Linked DNA regions of Homo sapiens: region 2 is linked to region 1. Evidence: promoter capture Hi-C in human tissues and cell types (Jung and others, 2019). All regions are on one chromosome and are shown on one strand. Each heading gives the region's core, a stretch centred on a gene start or on the middle of the fragment in contact. The rest is flanking DNA. Distances are from core to core; before and after follow the strand shown. Region 1 holds the start of ZNF331 (zinc finger protein 331). Region 2 overlaps ZNF347 (zinc finger protein 347).

What was found. The method cuts DNA at HindIII sites, captures the fragments that hold promoters and counts their contacts. A contact is called where the count stands out against the background at its distance.
Region 2: a contact is called between a fragment that was not itself captured here and the fragment with the promoter of ZNF331 in region 1, in 1 of the 25 tissues and cell types used here (aorta).

What each region holds. Positions count from the first base shown.
Region 1 is chr19:53,536,854-53,539,553 of GRCh38, reverse strand. It overlaps ZNF331 (zinc finger protein 331), which reads right to left and starts at 1,409. Exons shown (of 6, transcript NM_001079906.2): 1 at 1,258-1,409; 2 at 272-338. RefSeq lists enhancers at 1,330-1,379, 1,165-1,681. The HindIII fragment of the contact is 21,395 bases long and covers 634-2,700 here.
Region 2 is chr19:53,142,341-53,145,040 of GRCh38, reverse strand. ZNF347 (zinc finger protein 347) reads left to right here. Exons shown (of 5, transcript NM_032584.3): 5 at 2,485-2,700. Among named protein-coding and RNA genes, the nearest start is that of ZNF415, 11 kb to the right of the region's middle. The HindIII fragment of the contact is 4,843 bases long and covers 1-2,700 here.

The sequences.
Region 1 (2,700 bases), core at 160-2,659:
CAGTTACCTTCATATGTACGTTGCTCCTGATGTACAGACATCCAGACTTAGCACAAAACAGCAGCACTCACTGTGCACTCCCACTCAGGGGTGCGCGTCTATGGGTTTTATGCGTGTTAATGCATTTCACCCTCCTCACAAGCCTATCTTCAGAAGGCTCAAAAAGCTAAGAGGCAGAAACAGGACTCAAATCTTGGTCATCTACCTTTAATGTTTGGTCTTAAGTCTTATAAACACATATCATTTAATATAAAAAAAAAAGGATACTCACCTGACCCTTTCAGATGTTTAACGATTCGTCTTCCTCCTCGGGGATGCTTTTTCTGAAGGATGCTGGCCTGGGGAAAACAGAACCGGAAGGGTAACACCTGCCATACCTAATAAAACCAATGAGAAATACGAGGCCCCGAGATGGAGTTTCTGGGAGATTCCTGAAGAGCACGCTGTGGCGATTGAGATGATGACGCGTGGAGCTGCCCCCCTCCCTGTCTCCCACATCAGGGACCTGTCCCTCTACAGGAGGAATTCTACTCCTGAGGCCACCGTCCCCTGTCACTCAGGTGGCCTGCATGCACAGCACTTCTGGCTCTGAAAGCGTCACCTCATGGCTGTTTCTGCCTTCTTGCTGGTGAATTTCCAGGCGAGGCTCAGGCGCTCACGTCCCTCCGCGGCCCTTGTTCTCAGGCAGGTACCGCTTGGTTAGGAGGTGAAGGCAGGGGAAGCAGCAGAGACGCTGGAGCTACAAGTTGCACTGTCACACACACCTGCATCACTCAGAAGGCCCGATCATCCATCCCAGCACAGAGACGCTGAAGCTACAGGTTGTGTTGTCACACACACCTGCGTCACCCAGAAGGCCCGATCACCCATCCCAGCACAAGTCTGCACAGCTCAGCCTCACCACAGCTCACTCTGTCCTGAGACACATCTGCGCCCCTCATACCCACTAACGCCCAGCACGGCCATGCTACGGGCCCCACCACCCCACACGGTGCAGAGGTGCATCCGTGGGCCACGGAGACCCGTCCCGACCGCTGCCCCCGCACAACCCCCAGAGCGCACCTCACGGAGCAGAGTCCCAGGGACGCACCGCCGAGGTTCACAGGCACGGGCTGCGTTGACCCAAAGCCTCTGGAGCACCCCCGGTCACCAGTTATGGGGAGAGCCCGGCTGTGTCACCCCACACTCTCCAGCAAGTGCGTCACCGTCAGAAGCCCCGTGCCCGTCTCCCCTCGGAGCCACGCGCACCAATCTCACCTGCGCGGACTGGCGGAGATGCAGCGGCTGCGTCACTGGTGCAAACGCGCACCCAGCACGGCCCCCATCGCCCCCAATGACGCTCGCGTGCACCCGTGTCACAGTTACGGGGACAGGGCCGCCGCGTCAGCCTCGTACTCCCACGCAAGTGCGTCACACACTCGGTCCCGCCACCCCCTGGAGGCCAGCGCGCATGCGCACGCGCACCCAGCGGCCGCAGCGCGCAGACAGCAGCAGAGCCCGACACGCATGTGCACACAGACCCCTACACGTATGTGCACGTACCCAGACCCCGACACGTATGTGAGCGTACACAGACCCCCGATACATAGCGTGCTCAGCTGTTGACGTGCCTGTGCGGGCACACAGACCCTGACGGGCGTGTGCGCACGCACAGATGCCGACACGCATGTGCAGACACAACAGAGCCCGACACACACGTGCGCCTGCACAGATGCTGACACGCGGACACACTGACACGTGTGCGTGCACCCCTCCCATCCCTTTCCCTCCTCCCACTCTCCCAAAGCCGCAGACGCACCCGGTAGTCCCCCAACGCTGGGGCCTCGGGAGAGGGTGAGGCTAGAAGAGGACGCGGGGCCGTCGGGGGAAACCAGAGCCCCAAGCCCCGTGTTCCAGCATGCAGCACGGCGTACTCCTGGATGGTCTCTGGGAAATGTAGTCCGGGACGGTCCCAGGCAGGGGCCTCAGGGCGCGTCCCAGGTCGGTGCCGGAGCGGGCAGCCCCAAGCTAAGCCCTTCCTGGTCCCTGCAGACGCCCCTTCCCGACTGGGAAAGGAGCTGTGTCACCCCAGCTGGGACCCCGTCTGGCCTCTTGAGTGGGGTGATGCCGGGCGAGCCATGGCTGTCCTCAGAAGGGTATCCTCTCCTAGCCCCTCTGGAGCGTCACCTGGAATTCTCTGCAGGCCGCTAGCACAGGCTGCCGGAGCTGCTATTCGGTGTCCCTTGCTTGCTGCATTGTAAACAATGTACAGGTAGCAGTTATGCCCCGTGAGTCCCGCTCTCATTCCAAGTACTAACGTCACAGGGTCTACAGGATGTTGCAGGTACTTAACCACAGTCTCATTTTGACTCAAAATCCCACTTTTTGGTATTTATGCCAAGGAAGTAGCTATAGTTGTACACAATGTTGAAGTATGTTCACAAAATGCTTTTTTTCTGAAAATCTTTTTCTCTTTTAATTAGATAGACTTTAGATTCATATGTAGTTACAAGAAATAAAATTGAGAGATCTTGTGTACCTTTCACCTGGTTACCTCAGCTGGTGATTGTAGTATATAATACCACAACCAGAAGATTAACATTGATGTAATCCACTGACGTTACCCAGAATTTCCAGAGAATAATTTTTTGTTTGTTTGTTTGTTTGTTTTGAGACGGAGTTTCGCTCTTGTTGCCCAGGCTCAAGTGCAATGGTGCGATC
Region 2 (2,700 bases), core at 166-2,665, 390 kb after region 1:
TGGGATTACAGGTGTGAGCCATCACGCCCAGCCATGTTTGTGTATCTTCTGAGGCTCTTCTTGTTGGTTTCTAGTGTTATTTTATTGTGGTCAGAAAAGATACTAGATACAATTTTGACTTTTTTGAATTTATTGAGACTTGTTTGGTGTCTTAACATATAATCTATCCTGAAGCATAATCCATGTGCTGATGAGAAGAATATGTATTTTGCAACAGCTGGATAAAATGGTCTGTAAACGTCTGTTAGGGCATGGAACATACCTGTAATTTTAGCTACTTGGGAGGCTGAGGAGAGAGGAATGCTTAAGGCCAGAAGTTCAAGGCTGCAGTGCACTGTGAACTCACCTGTGACTAGGCAATGGACCACAGCCTGGGCAACATAGGGAGATCCCATCTGTTTAAAATAGAAAAAAAATTTAAAAAGTCTTTTTTTAGGTCCATTTAGTCTGCAGTATATTTTAACTCTAATTTTTTTTTTATTGGTTTTCTGCCTGGATGACCTATTCATTACCAAAAATTGTGTTTTGAAGTCCCCTAATATTATTGTATTGCTACCTGTCTCTCCCTTTAGATTTATTAACATTAGCTTTACATATTTGGGTGTGTACTTATTTATTATGTCCTTTTGCTAAGTTGATCCTTTTCTCATTATATACTGACTTTGTCTCTTTTTACACTTATTGACTTAAAGTCTATTTTATCTAAGTATACCTACTACTGCTCTTTTTTGATTTCTAGTTCCATGAAATATCTTTTTCCATCCCCTCACTTTTTGTCTACATGTATCCTTATAGGTGAAGTGAGTTTGTTGTAGGCAACATATAGTTAGCTGTATGTTTTATAATCCATTCAGCAGGCCTCTCTCTTGTAATTGGAAAATTTAGTCCATTTCTATTTAATGTTATTATTGATAGGTAAGGACTTATACTACCAGAGAAATCACTTAAACACAAAGGAAGACAGTAAGAAAGAAAGCAAGAGAGAAGTTAGAAAACAATTAGAAAAGAAGTAACAAAACGGCAGTATGTTTTAATTCATTGCTTTTTATTATTAATATGTCTATTACAGGCTTTTACTTTGTGGTGACCATAAAATAAGGCTTACGTCTCACACCAGTTAGAATGGCGATCATTAAAAAGTCAGGAAACAACAGGTGCTGGAGAGGATGTGGAGAAATAGGAACACTTTTACACTGTTGGTGGGACTGTAAACTAGTTCAACCATTGTGGAAGTCAGTGTGGCGATTCCTCAGGGATCTAGAACTAGAAATACCACTTGACCCAGCAATCCCATTACTGGGTATATACCCAAAGGATTATAAATCATGCTGCTATAAAGACACATGCACACGTATGTTTATTGTGGCACTATTCACAATGGCAAAGACTTGGAACCAACCCAAATGTCCAACAATGATAGACTGGATTAAGAAAACGTGGCACATATACACCATGGAATACTATGCAGCCATAAAAAATGATGAGTTCATGTCCTTTTTAGGGACATGGATGAAGCTGGAAACCATCATTCTCAGCAAACTATCGCAAGGACAAAAAACCAAACACCGCATGTTCTCACTCACAGGTGGGAATTGAACAATGAGAACACATGGACACAGGAAGGGGAACATCACACTCTGGGGACTGTTGTGGGGTGGGGGGAGGGGGGAGGGATAGCATTAGGAGATATACCTAATGTTAAATGACGAGTTAATGGGTGCAGCACACCAACATGGCACATATATACATATGTAACTAACCTGCACATTGTGCACATGTACCCTAAAACTTAAAGTATAATAAAAAATAAATAAATAAATATAAAAACATCCTATAGCTTTTAACAATTTATCTCAAATCAATATCAACTAACTTTGATTGCAAAAAAAGAAACTAAAACCTCTGTGCATGTTCGTTCCCTTCTCACCCTGCATTTTGAATTTTTTATGTCGCAATTTATGTTGTGTACTGCCTATCACTTAACAAACTGTTGTGCTTATTTTTAATAGTTTTATCTTTTAGCCCTCTTAGTAAATATACAAATGGTTTGCACACCATGATTATGATATTAATATTAGTGTAACAGTTACATCGTGTCATTTTCTTTGGATTTGAAGAACTCCCTTTATCATTTCTTGTAAAACAGGTCTGATCATGGTAAATTCCCTTAGCTTTGTTTGTCTGGGGAAGACTTTCTCTCCTTTATGACTGAACGATTGCTTTGCTGGCTACAGTATTGTAGGTTGGGAACTAGGCTTCCATACTATTAATTTGAATTACATGGAATCAACTTTATTAAACAATCCTCTTTCCTTTGTGTTCCTAAAAATTGAATATTATTGTTCTGAAGTTTCATAAATCTGTTTAATATAAGAATTGCTTTTGGTTTAATATTGTTTTTCGGTGTAATATTGTTTTTCGGTGTAAAATACTTGTTTACGTACTACAATTAATTGGAAACCTATGGATCTTTATATCTTGTAGCTCTCTCTTCCGAATTTGTAATGAAAGATTTACTACACAAAGGGAAGAGTAATACAGGAGAAGTATTCCAAACAGTGATGTTGGAAAGACAGGAAAGCCAAGACATTGAAGGATGTTCCTTCAGGGAAGTCCAGAAAAATACACATGGCCTTGAGTATCAATGCAGAGATGCTGAAGGAAATTACAAAGGAGTGCTTTTGACCCAAGAAGGCAATC